Linked DNA regions of Homo sapiens: regions 2, 3 and 4 are each linked to region 1. Evidence: promoter capture Hi-C in human tissues and cell types (Jung and others, 2019). All regions are on one chromosome and are shown on one strand. The core of a region is centred on a gene start or on the middle of the fragment in contact, and the rest is flanking DNA. Distances in the headings are between cores, read along the strand shown.

Region 1 (3,652 bases), core at 601-3,100:
CAGAGATGAGATTTTTGATCTGTGGGAAGAGTTATTGGTTGCTGGGATTGGGTTGTTGATCTCTAGAGGTGAAGCTACCGACTCATGGAAACGGGGATTTCGGTGAGAGGATCTCAAAGCCCTGAGGATCCATGAGGGTATGACTGCTAATCTATGGGCTATTCCCCTACAGAGCGTTGGGTCATTTGGTGGCAGGCATGGGACTGTGGGTTACTGGGTCTGAGGATATTGTCTTTGGAGATAGTTAGTTGACTTGTAGGGGAGGGGTCGCTGGTCAGAAATGGGGTAATTTGTTTGTGAAGTTGAACTATTGATCAGTGGGAATGGAGCTGTTGGTGTTTAGGAATTAACATATTGATCTTCAGGAATGAGGTCACTGAGATGGAGCGAACAGTCCATGTGGGCTGTTAGTGGGGATGAGACTATTCTCTTTGGAGATGAGGCCATTGATTCACGGATAGGGGGCCACTAATTAGTGGGAATGGGACTAATAGTCCATAGAGGTCGAGTCATTCCCTTGCGCGGAAGAGGTAGGGAAGGGGTATTTCTTGATGGAGAGTGAAGTTGAGACATGGATAGACCATTGAATAGAAGTCCAGAGAAGACTGCAGAGTCCAGCGAATCGTCTTCGACCTCCTGTAAACGCCCGCTGCTTGGGTTAGCTTCCCTAGCACCCCCTCCTTTCTACCAGCCCTGCCCCCACGACAGCCCTCACCTGTCTGCGGGGTAACCCAGGAACAGGTAGCCGGAGGCAAAGCCCAAGATGAAGAGGATCTGCTCCAGGATCACCTGCCAGCCCAGGTCACACACCAGATCCCACTGGGGATGTGAGAAGGGTGCAGCGGGCGTGAGGCCCCGCCCTCGCCGCTCTCTGCCCGCCCCCAGACCCGCGGCCCGCCTGGCCGCCTCACCTGGCCGATGGCGTTGGTGGTGAGCACAGGAAGGCCATTATAGTCCCAATCCTTGAGGCAATGGTTGAAGTCCGGCGGGGCGAAGCCGCTGCACGAGGGGTCGGTACTGGTGGCGACACGGCTGGCGGCGCTGGCTGCTAGGGCAGCGCTGGCGACGCTGACGCCGCTGGCATTGGGAGGCTGCTCCCAGCCAGAGGCATTAGGGGGGAAGGCCCCGTAGTGGCAATGCAGCGGGGGCGCCAGCGTGAAGATGGGGTCCGAGGCCATGCCCAGAGCCACGAAGAGCACCGGCAGGCAGCAGAGGCCGAGCTGCAGCTGCTGGCCGCCGCCCAGCGCCCCCACCTGGGCGAGCAGCGCCTCAAAGCTGAGGGGGCCTGGGGGCACGGCCAGCGACAGGCTGCTGCCCAGTCCGTCGCCGCCCGCGTCTCCCTCCCCCTCCCGCTCGCGCTCCCGCTCACCCTGCAGCTGCTCCGTGGGCACCGCATCTCCGAGGGTCCCGACCTGCTGTTGGGGGGCAGGGGGTGGCAGGAGAAGGGTGAAGCGGAGGAAACCGCAGAGCAAGGGCAGGGGGCAGGTGGGAGGGAGGGCTAGGAAGGCAGTCAGGGGCGAGGGATGCGCAGGAGGAAAATGCCAGACGCTCCGCGGGGGCGGGGGTGCTGGGAGAGGATGGCGTCGCCACCTGGGGCTCGGGCACTTACTCCGTTGGAGGTGGGGGTGATCTCTACAGTGTTGTCGATTTTGCCGCCGCCCCCGCCATTGGGCTCGGGGGTCCCGGTGGCCACCCGGGGAGCCAGCTTGCCGACCGCAGGGGCCCTGCCGGCCCGCGCCGAAAGGATGCGCTGTCCTCTGGCTCAGTTGCGCGCCGGCTGCCCGGACACAGACAGCTCGAAGAGATCCCGCTCTGCAGCTCTGCAGCCGCGGGCGCCTCCTTGGTCTCTGCGATCTCTGCGCTGCTTTCCCCTCCCCTTCCTCTAGACTCTCCTCCCCTTCCCACGTCAGCAGAACCTTCGGTCCAGACTCTTCGTCAGAGAGAGGAAGGGGGGCCAGGGCCCAGGGGAGGGAGGGAAGGGGGGCTCTGTCGTCTCTTTCCTGGGTCTGCGGGCCATTGCGGTAAAAAAGAAAAAAAGCTGAAGGATAGTAGCTAGTCCAGGCAGATGCCAGAGATTCTTCCTCTGCTTCCAATCATTTGCCATCATTCATTCATTCATTCATTCACCCATTCACTAATCAGTAAAATTTAAGTGTCCACTACGTTCCAGGACTTGCACTAGACTTTAAGGATAACAGGGTGGACAAGTTCCACTTTGGAGACCTTTACTCCAGGGAGACAGACATGTAAACTGGCTATTACAGTACAACTTATGCATATGGAAGACTGTCTTGGCCCTGTATCAGCCCTAGCTTCAGTCCTCTACAAGGAGACCACTTTCTTGGGTTTCATCACTCCCATCCTGTTTGAATCTCCATTTCTCAACAGCATTTGGCACTGTTGACCCCTCTTCCTCTAAACACTCTCTTCCTTTGCTGCTGAGTCTCTCTTGCTCCCCTTTTCTCCATTGCAGAAATCGTCTTCCAGCTCATGGCATTGGTGCTGAGCATGGGCAGGCCATTATCCTCCCGGTTCTTGAGGCAATGATTGAAGTCCAGCGGGGTGACGCAACTGCAGGAGGGGTCTGTATTGGTAGTGATGAGGCTGTGGTGCTGGCTTCTAGGGCCATTCCCGTCTGTATCATTTAGACACCATGGTTCAGTGTCTGGAATCCTCACAGACTTAGTCCTAGGCCCTCCTCTCATCTCACACTGTCTCCACTTTGGGATCTTACCTATGCCCACAGCTTCAATCACCACCCATACAAACAATACAAACCTGACGCCCAGACTGACATCTCCAGCTTCCACCTCTGTTCTGAGCTCCAGACCTATGAAGCCACCTCTTATTTGACCTTCACCTTGGATGACTCACAGGGACCTCAAACTCAATATGTTCAAGACGAAATTTTTGCTTTTCCCCCATAACTTGGTTGGCTTCCACTGCTTTTTTCTGCAGCGAATGGCACCCTCAACATCGCATTGTGGCCAAATGCTCAGGCAACAGCCTTTAGAGCTTTCTCTTCCTTATCCATGTTGAATTCTTTACAAAATTCTGCCCATTTTACTTCCTATATATTCTCAGACATCCCACATCTCTCCATCTCTACCATTATTAGTCAAGCTACCTGTTGCAAAGACCACTTTAGCTCCCTAATTCCTAACTGGTGTTCAGCGTCCGCTTTGTTTATACCTCCTTATCACCCATATGTCATTTATAGTCAGATAGAATGATCTTTTCAAAATACAGATCTGATCATGTATCTTTCCTGCTAACCAGCCTTCAGTGGTGTCTCCTCACTGTCAAAGTGAATATTAAAAATCTAGATACCTCATACATGGTTCTACATGCCTGGTCACATGCTGTCTGTAGTTCCATCTCACTTCTTTCCCCAAACTCTCTGCACTCCAGCCACAGACCTTCTTCTAGTTTTCCCAGCGCCACGAGGCCTTTGAACAAGCTGGTTCCTGCACCTAAAAAGCTTCTTAGTCACATTTTTCTCATCCTTCAGCTCTCAGCCTAAACATCTTTGCTACACAGGAGTCTTCCCTAACCTCTAGAATTGCTACTCAAAGTGTGGTTCATGGACCAGCAGCATTCCTGGGAGCTTGTTAGAAATGCAGAATCCAAGCCTCACCCAGACCCTTGAATC
Region 2 (3,652 bases), core at 766-3,265, 220 kb before region 1:
TGCTATATCTCTTGATATTAACAAAGATGATGGGTATCATTTGCCAGATCCTCTAAGATCCAGTGAGACCTAGCAGCAGACTGCAAGGGTAACAGGGGTGTGTGTGAAAAGCATGAACTCCCAGCTTAGACTAGGCACAAAGAGAGGGAGGTGTGTGGAGAGTTACAGCAGGAAGGGCCCTTACTGTGAAGAGCAGGGCTGGGATTGGGGTGCAGCGCTTCACGTGGATCATGGCCAACACACTGGGAAGGTGGCCCTCTCGGGCTCCAGCGAAGAACAGCCTGTCAGGGAGAAAAGCAGGTCAGCCTGGGATAACCCAGGGACCACCAAGCCCCAGCTCCTTCATCCTTGCCTACCTTCTGCCCACACAGGGGCATCCCCACTCCAACCAGGCACCCGCCTTCACATGCATACTTTCCACCCCACCAGTCACAGAACCTGTGTTCACAAATGCAGGTGCAAGCAAACCAGAGGCAGCCAGTGGAAAAGTGGATGAACCCTGGGTATGTTAGACCCTGAATGTGGTATGGGTGGCTCAGGGTTACTGATAATTGTACTGTCACTCAGTGGGGTGTTCCCAATGCCTGGAAGGCTGCAGGAGCAGCCTCTGTCTGTTGCCTAAAATCTTCATCTCTTTAAAAGCATTCCTCACATCCTCAAAGGATGCAGATTCCCTAATACACTGGGACTGAACTGCATATGGAAAGCTTTAAAAACACTCTATTTTTTTTTTTTTTTTTTTTTTTGAGATGGAGTCTGACTCTGTCGCCCAGGCTGGAGTGCAGTGCTGCAATCTCGGCTCACTGCAACCTCCGCCTCCCAGGTTTAAGCAATTCTCTGCCTCAGCCTCCCGAGAAGGTGGGATTACAGGTGTGTGCCACCATGCCCAGCTAATTTTTGTATTTTCAGTAGAGACGGGGTTTCACCATCTTGGCCAGGCTGGTCTTGAACTGCTGACCTCGTGATCCACTTGCCTCGGCCTCCCAAAGTGCTGGGACTACAGGCGTGAGCCACCGCGCCTGGCCTAAAAACACTCTTGTCCTAGTCAGAGAGTAGTTAGTTGTCTTTGTGGGAGTAGGGAATTGGTGGTGGAAATGTTCTCTATCTTGTTTTGGGTAGTGGTTGAATTTTGACAACTGTCAAAATTCATCAAATGGAAGCCAGGCACAGTGGCACACACCTATATTTCTAGCTACTTGGGAGGCTGAAGCAGGAAGATTGCTTGAGCCCAGAAGTTCAAAGCCAGCCTAGGCAACATAGTGAGACTCTGCCTCTAAAAAACAACAATAAAAAACAAAAATGAACAAACACAAACAAAAAAACCCCCACAAAACTCATCAAAATGAACATTTATGATCTGCTTTTTTTTTTTTTTTGAGACGGAGTTTCACTCTTGTTGCCCAGGCTGGAGTGCAATAGCACGATCTTGGTTCACCGCAACCTCCGCCTCCCAGGTTCAAGCGATTCTTCTGCCTCAGCCTCCCGAGTAGCTGGGATTACAGGCATGCGCCACCACACCCAGCTAATTTTTGTATTTTTGGTGGAGACGGGGTTTCTCCATGTTGGTCAGGCTGGTCTCGAACTCCCGACCTCAGGTGATCTGCCCGCCTCGGCCTCCCAAAGTACTGGGATTACAGGCATGAGCCACTATGCCCAGCCTATGATCTGCTTTTTAAAAAAAAAATTGAGGCAGGGTCTTGCCATGTTGCCCAGGCTGGTCTCGAACTGGGCTCTAATGATCCTCCCACCTCGGGCTCCCAAAGCGTTGGGATGACAGGCATGAGCCACCACGCCCAGCCTGCATATTTTATTGTATGTAAATTGTACTTAAAAATTTATATCCTGTCTTGTGGGATTGAGTTTAAAAAAATTATATCCTGTCTGGGCACGGTGGGTAACACCTGCAATCCCAGCACTTTGGCAGGCTGAGGCGGGAGAATCATTTGAGCCCGGAAGTTTGAGGCCAGTCTGGGCAAAATAGTGGACCCTTGTCTCTACAAAAAATAAAAATAAAATTAGCCAGGTGTGGTGGCATGTGCCTGTTGTTCTAATTACTCGGGAGGCTGAGGTGACAGGATCACATGAGCCTGGGAGGCTGAGGCTGCAGTGAGCTGTGATTGTGCCATTGCACTCCACCCTAGGCAACAGAGCAAGAACCTGTCTCAAAAAAAAAAAAAAAAAAAAAGAGAAAGAAAAAATTGGAAATATCGTAAGTGCCTAAAAGTAAGAGGTCGATAAAATGAATTTGGCATAAGATGAAATGTTATGGGCTAGGCACAGTGGCTCATGCCTGTAATCCCAGCTCTTTGGGAGGCTGAGGTGGGTGAATCACCTGAGGTCAGGAGTTTGAGACCAGCCTGGCCAACATGGGGAAACCTCGTCTCTACTAAAAATACAAAAATTAGCCAGATGTGGTGGCACGTGCCTATAATCCCAGCTACTTGGAAGGTTGAGGCAGAATTGCCTGAACCCGGAAGGTGGAGGTTGCAGTGAGCAGAGATCATGCCCTTGCACTCCAACCTGGATGACAGAGTGAAACTCTGTCTCAAAGAAAAAAAAAAGGGAACATTATGTAGTCATAATGTTTTTGAAAAAATTTGATTACATGAGAATATGCTCAAAATATAACATCAAATGAAAAAACAGGACTGAAAACTATAATGCAAATAATTTTTTTTTTTTGAGACATGGTCTTGCTCTGTTGCCCAGGCTGGAGTGCAGTAGCACGATGATGGCTCACTGTAGCCTTGACCTCCCAAACTCAAATGATCCTCCTGTCTCAGTCTTCCAAGTAGCTGGGACTACAGGTGTGCACCACCACACCCAAATGCCAATTAATTTTAAGATTATTTATGGGCCTATTTATTAAAATGCTAACTGATTGTCTCTGGGTGGTGAAATTATGGTTAATTTTAATTTTCTTCCTTATACATTAGAGAAAAAATTTTAAAAATCGCAAAATGCAGCCTGGGCAACATGGTGAAACCCTGTCTCTACAAAAAATACAAAAATTAGCCAGGCGTGGTAGAGCGTGCCTGTAGTTCCAGCTACTGAGGGGGCTGAGGTGGGAGGATCACTTGAGCCTGGGAGGTTGAGGCTGCAGTGAGCTGTATTTGCACCACTGCACTCCAGCCTGGGTGACAAAGTGAGACCCTGTCTCCAAAAAAAAAAAAAAAAAAAAAAAGAAAAGATAAGGAAAAGGAAAAAATGAATAAAATTCTAAAATAGATGGAATATTTATAATCAGAATAAAGATTTTTTAACTTAAAAAATTAAACTTTTTATTTTTCCAATTTTTAGAGATGGGGTCTTGCTCTGTCACCCAGGCTGGAGTAGAGTGGCGTGATTATAGCTCACTGCAGCCTCCAATTCCTGGGCTCCAGTGATCCTCTAGTCTCAGCCTCCTGAGCAGCTGGGACTACATGTACATATCACCGTGCTCAGTTAACTTAAAAAATGAAACTTTTTATTTTGAGATAATTGTAGATTTGCATTCAGTGAATCTTACAACCAAGTACAGTTGTAAGAAATAATAAGGAGAGATCCTATGTATCTTTTGCCCAGTTTCCTCCATTGGTAACATGCTACACAATTATATTATAATATCACAACTAGGATATTGATGTTTAAATCAATTTTATTTTTTACTTAT
Region 3 (3,652 bases), core at 566-3,065, 200 kb before region 1:
CAGCACTTTGGGAAGCTGAGGCGGATAGATCACTTGAGTTCAGGAGTTTAAGACCAGCCTGGCCAATATAGCAAAACCCTGTCTCTATTAAAAACACAAAAATTAGCATGCCTGTAATGCCAGCTATTCGGGAGGCTGAGAATCACTTGAACCTGGGAGGCAGAGGTTGCAGTGAGCCAAGATCGTGCCACTGCACTCCAGCCTGGGTGACAGAGATTCCACCTCAAACAAAACAAAACAAAAACAAAACAAAACAAAAGCAAAGAAAAAAAAAGCTCACTAAGAGTACACGTTATTCCCAGAGAGAGACTACTTGATAACTGTTTTCTTTTTTTTGAGAGCAGTCTCATTCTGTCACCCAGGCTGGAATGCAGTGGCCTGATGTTGGCAAACTACAATCTCTGCCTCCTGGGCTCAAGCAGTCCTCCCACCTCAGCCTCCTGAGTAGCTGGGACCACAGGCATGTGCCACCACGCCCAGCTAATTTTTTGTATTTTTGGTAGAGATGGGGTTTCGCCATGTTGCCCAGGCTGGTCTTGAACTCCTGAGCTCTAGCAATCTGCCCACTTTGGCCTCTCAAAGTGCTGGGATTACAGGCATGAGCCACCAATGTTTTCTTTTTTTTGAGACAGGGTCTTACTCTGTCATCCAGGCTGGAGTGCAGTGGCATGATGATGGCTCACTGCAGTCTCAACCTCCCCAGACTCAGGTGATCCTCCCACCTCAGCCTCCTGAGTAGCTGAGGTGTGTGCCACCAGGCCCAGCTAATTTTTGTATTTTTTGTAGAGACGGGTTATGCCAGGTTGCCCAGGCTGGTCTCTAGAACTCCTGGGCTCAAGTGAGCCACCTGCCTTGGCCTCCCAAAGTGCTGCGATTACAGGCATGAGCCGCCACACCCGGTGATGTTTTCAGGTGCTCCCTTGCTTTGGATACAGGACTCTGGCTTCTCATTGAGCTGGGCCAGCAGGGGGTCATTTTGTGCCTCCCTCAGGGAGCCAATGAACATTCCCACATGGATCCCTGAACCAATCTCATTTCTTCTACTAAGCCAGCTGCCACTCGATGAGCCACACTATTCTGGTCTGACAGGGTAAAGGTTGGGATAGGGCCACCTGGATACGGGGCTGGATTGGTTGTTATAAGGACAGTGCTAAGAAGAATGAACCAGTTGGGACTCTCCTTGTAGTCAACTCTTGGCCCTAGAGGTAAATATTTGAAGCCTGCGCCCTACCACCCAAGGCTTGTGTCCAGCCTCATGGGTGATCAGAAGGCAGGAATGACCTTAGAGACCCAGAACCTCATTTTATTTTTCTTTTACAGATGGGAGTCTCATTCTGTCGCCCAGGCTGAAGTGCAGTGGCATGATCATAGCTCACTGCAGCTTCCCAGTCCTGGGCTTGAGCGATCTGCCTGACTCGGCTTCCCAAAGTGCTAGGATTACAGTTGTGAGCCACCATGGCGGCCCCAGAACCTCATTTTATATGTGAGTGAATTTAGACCCCAGCTAATTCGCAGCAAAGACCAGACTGGGACAGCCCAATTCCCAGTTGCTTGTTCTGCCTCTGCCCCGCCTTCCTTCATTATACACAGATCACTCTGCTTTCCCTTGGCCGCTCCCACATCATCTCTCCTCCTGCTTGGGTCAGTGGTACCCATGGTCACTACTGCCAGTGCCACTTGGGACTCTGGGTCTGTCACCAAGACACTGGTTAGCCCCAGCCTGGACTGCTTTCTGTGCAGCAGGAAGGAAGATGCCAATATGGCAAAAGGGGAAGACTTTCACAGTTATGCCTCAGAAACCAAGAAAGGTGCATCCATTGCTCCCAGGGCTTTAGAAAGTCATTTCCCACAGGGATCTCCACCTTGGGTCCCCTCCCACCAGCCCCCTTAATCAATGTCACAGTCACATGTTCCCTCCAAACTCCCGGAACTCCATTTGGATTTCTCGGTCTCGCTGGCTTGCACCTTTCTCAGGAGTGGACTGGACTGGCTTGGAAAGGCTTGGTTTTCCTTTAACATTTCCAGAACCAGGCCACTCCTCCTTGTCTGTTCAGATAAGTGAAAACAGGCAGTAGAAAGGGGGAAAAATGTCCAGACTTGCCAAAGTCCATAAAGACAGATGGTGAAGAAGAGAGGGAAAGAGCACAAGAAACCACAGGGCGGGAGAGAGCAAGGGGAGGACAATGCAGATGAGTGGGAGAGAAAAAGGGCTTGAGAGGAGCAGAACAGAGAGAGGCCAGGACTGAAAACAGCAAGATGGAATGTACTAAGCAGACGGTTGCTGAAAAAGGAAGCAGTGACGCCACTTTGTAGAAATCAGAACGCCCTGTTCCTCTCCAAACCTGCAAAACAGGCACCTTTCTGGATGGAGCTCCCCAGCCCTCTGAAACGCCATAAATTTCACCTGGGTCATGGCCTGCCAGAAGGGTTGGCTTCTCAGCCTCACCTTTTGCTGGGGCGTTCACTTCTCTGCCTTCTGCCACGCTCTGGCCAGCTCCCACAGACTCCCTCCCCTCCAGCTGGAGCAAAAGGGGTGAGGCATGTCCCTCCCAGCAGCCCTCTGGGTCTGGGTGCCCAGGCTGGAGGTTGGAGCCGCTGGGCAGGGAAGCCGGGCCTGTGGGGGCGTGGGTGTGGCTACGCTCGGCTCTGTGATTGGCTGCACCGAGTTCCTTGGCCGCCTCCCCCGCTTGTGGAAGGAACTGAGCACGTGTTTCTAATTGTGGAAAAGCCGCTTCGGCTTGGCCTGTCCAACCGCAGGCGTTTCCAGATCTAGGAGGTAAGCAGTGCCGGCTGCCAAAAGGCGCTGATAGGCAAAGAAAACACGGAGGCCTGTTTGACCTCTAACGCACACAACCCAAGGCTCTGATAAGGTTCCAGTTCTGCCCACGCAGGCCACACGGAACAGTCTTTCCTCGTCAAAGACCCAGAGAGGCCTGGAGGTGTGGGGGAGTGGGCAGACACGGATCCAGCTTCACAGAACCCTCCTAGAATCCTTCTCTATTCCCCGCCCACCCCCACCTCAAGACATTTTTTAGAGCGGGTGAGGGGCCCACATTATAAAGTCCTTCCGCACCTGGATTATTGTACATGTAACATAACTTGTCTGATAAAGTTATACATATAACTTGACTGGTGAAAGAGAAAAACGTTAAAAAAAAAAAACCCACAAAAAGCCACACAACAGACAAAAAAAAAAAAAAAAAAAAATCAAAGCAGCCCTTCCTCATAAACTGCGCTTTGATCCCAGCTTCTATAAAGTGCACAGTGGGGAGTGTGGTTTTGAAACAGATCTTGCCTATCGCACGATAGTAACATTTCCCCTTCTCCAGCCCTTTTCATCTCGAAGCACTTACAACGTTTTAGAAATCTCGGAACCCCCTCCAAAGGAGAGGAGGTGCTCTGAGCCTTCCGGAAGGGCCTCTCTCTTCCAAGGACACACCAGCAGAGGAGGAGGGTGCAGAGAAGCTGTGAGGGCTGTGAGTGCTCCTGGAGGCACACAGCTTTTACCAAACACTTCCAGCTAAGCTCCTGCCCATACTGCCCCATCCCCTCCCCTCCTCCCTTCCTGGCTCTCTCTTCCCCTTCCTTCTTATCCTGTTAGCTCCTGCGCCAGCTGCTGGAGCTGGGGTTTCTGCTGAATCACCACCCAGTA
Region 4 (3,652 bases), core at 342-2,841, 140 kb after region 1:
TACTCTCACCTCTGCTACTTACCAACAGGGTAAATTTGAGGGAGTCAGCCTTTCAGTTGCCTCATCTTTAAAGAGAAAGTAATATCCACTCTGTGTTGATACATAGAACAGGAAATTTCCAAAGCAAAGCTTAAAGTAGAATGTGCTCTTAACCACAAAAACACTTTCCTCGGAGGCATTAAGTCTCCTGCGTCCAGGTAGGTCCTGAAGTATCCCTGCCTTGCAGATGAAGTAACTGAGACCTACAAAGGTTATATTTTGAGCTGATCTTGTCTTTGTTTCAGAGAATGATCTTTACTCAAATGTCCCCTTCTCTATGACCGCTCTATTTAAAATGGCCCTATCTTTCCCTCTATACAAACCCCTGTCCCCCTTCCCTGCTTTATTTTTCTCTGTGGCATTTGCAACATCTAACATACTACATATACTTAGAGATGGCTTATCTACTGAACATTGCCTTATGGTACAATTTCTGCTGGCATTTCAAGAGCAGAGGAATGTCGTGGCTAGAGTGAGCCTTGGACATTATGCATCTTGGGTCTTGCCTTCTGGCTAAAAAGGGATCCTGCCAAGTGGAAGGATCTTGGTAGTCTGTTTAGCTGGGCTCAGCTTCAAGGTCAAGGATAAAACTGGTAGTAAATAATATTCGGAAGAAGAAATCTGGGAAATAGGACTATTGTGTTCCTTTGTTCCTGAGCTTGTCACAGGCACTGTCCTGTTGGGGAAAGCCAAGAGGGTTCAGAGGGCTCAGGTTCCCTAGAGTGAATTCCTTGTAGATTGGTCCAGTTACTAATGAGGTTACTATATTAAAAATTCAGATTTATGGTGGCTCACACCTGTAATCCCACCACTTTGGGAGGCCGAGGTGGGCGGATCACTTGAGGTCAGGAGTTCGAGATCAGTCTGGCCAACATAGTGAAACCCCGTCTCTACTAAAAATAAAAAAACTTAGCCGGGCATGGTGGCGCATGGCTGTAGTCCCAGCAGCTGAGGAGGCCGAGGCAGGAGAATGGCTTGAACCCAGGAGATGGAGGTTGCAGTGAGCTCAGATCATACCACTGCACTCCAGCCTGGGCAACGGAGTGAGACTCCATCTCCAAAAAAAAAACCACTCAGATTTATGCAAAATTTAATGATTAGTGAAAACGGTTTTACTTACAAAAAGATTTGGGACATTTATGTGCTATAGATGACAAAACCCTGGACTAAGACTTAGCAGTTCTGGCCTGGGTGCAGTAACTCATACCTGTAATCCCAGCACTTTGGGAGGCTGAGGTGGGTGGATTGCCTGAGCCTAGGAGTTTGAGACCAGCCTGGGCAACATGGCAAAACCCTGTCTCTAAAACAAATACAAAAATTAGCTGGTTGTGGTAGCGCACGCCTATAGTCCTAGCTACTCAGGAAGCGGAGGTGGGAGGATCCCCTGAGCCTGGGAGGTCGAGGCTGCAGTAAGTCATGACTGTGCCACTGCACAACAGCCTGGGTGACAGAGTGAGACCCTGTCTCAAAACAAACAAACAGGGCTGGGCGCGGTGGCTCACACCTGTAACCCCAGCACTTTGGGAGGCTGAGGCGGGTGGATCACCTGAGGTCAGGAGTTCGAGACCAGCCTCAACATGGAGAAACCCCATCTCTACTAAAAATACAAAATTAGCAGGGCGTAGTGGTGCATGCCTGTAATCTCAGCTACTCGGGAGGCTGAGGCAGGAGAATTTTTTGAACCTGGGAGGTGGAGGTTGCGGTGAGCCGAGATCGGGCCATTGCACTCCAGCCTGGGCAACAAGAGCGAAACTCCGTCTAAAAACAAACAAACAAATAAACAAAAGACTTAGCTCTGCATTCCAATCTTGGCTCTGCAGCTAATTTCTGTGTGGCCTTTGGTAAGGCACTTAACTTCTCTGAAGTTGGGTTTCACTATTTCTTCCTAAGTTGCGATCTCTCTAGTTTGATCATATGAGATCTTAGGTTTAAAATTTTTTTTTTTTTTTTTTTTTGAGTTGGAGTTTCACTCTTGTTGCCCAGGTTGGAGTGTGGCGCAATCTCGGCTCACCGCAACCTCCGCCTCCCAGGTTCAAGCAATTCTCCTGCCTCACCCTCCCTAGTAGCTGGGATTACAGGCATGTGCCACCATGCCTGGCTAATTTTGTATTTTTAGTAGTGACGGGGGTTTCTCCATGTTGGTCAGGCTAGTCTCGAACTCCTGACCTCATGTGATCCACCTGCTGTGGCCTCCCAAAGTGCTGAGATTACAGGCGTGAGCCACCGTGCCCTGACAGGTTTAAAGTTTTTAATGCTAGGCCAGGTGTGGTGGCTCACGCCTGTAATCCCCAACAGTTTGGGAGGCCTAGGTGGGTGGATCACCTGAGGATAGGAGTTCAGACCAGCCTGGCCAACATAGTGAAACCCCGTCTCTACTAAAAATACAAAAATTAGCCTGGCGCGGTGGTGTGTGCCTATAGTCCCAGCTACTCGGGAGGCTGAGGCAGGAGAATGGCGTGAACACAGGAGGCGGAGGTTGCAGTGAGCCGAGATTGCGCCACTGCACTCCAGCCTGGGCGACAGAGCGAGACTCTGTCTCAAAAAAAATAAAAATAAAAATAAGTAAAAGTTTTTAAAACTTATAAAGGAAAGAAGGATATGAATATGTGTTAGCATTTATTGGGTGACTCCTAAATGCCAACCACAGGATAAGGGGTTTTTCTTAGGAAAACTAGCTCATTTAATCTTTACAGTCACTGGGGCATTTTGCAACCATCTTACAGATGAGGAAACTGAGGCTTTTGGAGATTTTTTCCTTAGAGAGTGAAAAAATTTTCCAGGGTTCCAGATTTATTACAAGAGCTCCTTTCTCAGATGTGGATCTTGGTCCTCAGGATGCTGCCTAGCTGCCCCCTTGGAATACTGCTGTTGCTGTACTGGCATGCTTCTTTGCTGAGCTTCAGCATGAGAATATAAATAGTTTTTCTTGGCTGGGTGCGGTGGCTCACGCCTGTAATCCTAGCACTTCGGGAGGCCGAGGCGGGTGGATCACGAGGTCGGGAGATTGAGACCATCCTGGCTAACATGGTGAAACCCCATCTCTACTAAAAATGCAAAAAATTAGCCGGGCGTGGTGGCAGGCACCTGTAGTCCCAGCTACTCGGGAGGCTGAGGCAGGAGAATGGCGTGAACCCGGGAGGCGGAGCTTGCAGTGAGCGGAGATCGTGCCACTATACTCCAGCCTGGGTGACAGAGCAAGACTGTCTCAAAAAAAATAAATAAATACAATAAAGAAATAAATAAAATAGTTTTTCTCATTCAGCGGTGTTAAAATGGGAATCATCAAACAAAACAGTCCTAAGCAGTGTTCTATGGCAATAGCCTGAATGGGACAGATTAGCAAGGCCACAAGATCTTTGGCTTTGCCCAAACCCAGTGGACCTCACCATTTGACCTGTTGAACTTTTCTTCTTGAAACTCTTCTTCCTTGGTTTCTGTGATGTACACTCCCATTGGTCTTTGCATCTCCCTGTTCCTTCTTGGTCTCTTTGGCTTCAGAGCCTTCTCTCACCCCTTAGACATCTTAAGAGTCTGTCCTCTTCTCTGCTTCTCACGCAGCATTTTCTCACTGGGTCATGTCATTCACTCCCATGGTTTCAACTACATCAATTTC

Evidence for each region. Contacts are between HindIII fragments. The study calls those that stand out against the background at their distance.
Region 2: a contact is called between a fragment that was not itself captured here and the fragment with the promoter of SLC22A17 in region 1, in 1 of the 25 tissues and cell types used here (psoas muscle).
Region 3: a fragment that was not itself captured here is called in contact with the fragment with the promoter of SLC22A17 in region 1 in 1 of the 25 tissues and cell types used here (spleen).
Region 4: a fragment that was not itself captured here is called in contact with the fragment with the promoter of SLC22A17 in region 1 in 2 of the 25 tissues and cell types used here (IMR-90 fibroblasts and lymphoblastoid cells).

The regions. Positions count from the first base shown.
Region 1 is chr14:23,351,037-23,354,688 of GRCh38, forward strand. SLC22A17 (solute carrier family 22 member 17) reads right to left here and starts at 1,851. Exons shown (of 10, transcript NM_016609.7): 1 at 1,610-1,851; 2 at 912-1,415; 3 at 716-819. The coding sequence starts at 1,705. The HindIII fragment of the contact is 16,780 bases long and covers 1-3,652 here.
Region 2 is chr14:23,131,277-23,134,928 of GRCh38, forward strand. SLC7A8 (solute carrier family 7 member 8) reads right to left here. Exons shown (of 11, transcript NM_012244.4): 8 at 185-281. Among named protein-coding and RNA genes, the nearest start is that of CEBPE, 14 kb to the left of the region's middle. The HindIII fragment of the contact is 3,545 bases long and covers 244-3,652 here.
Region 3 is chr14:23,151,813-23,155,464 of GRCh38, forward strand. The region is part of intron 3 of SLC7A8 (solute carrier family 7 member 8); the gene reads right to left. Among named protein-coding and RNA genes, the nearest start is that of SLC7A8, 30 kb to the right of the region's middle. The HindIII fragment of the contact is 7,030 bases long and covers 1-3,652 here.
Region 4 is chr14:23,496,167-23,499,818 of GRCh38, forward strand. No RefSeq gene overlaps it. Among named protein-coding and RNA genes, the nearest start is that of NGDN, 28 kb to the left of the region's middle. The HindIII fragment of the contact is 8,706 bases long and covers 1-3,652 here.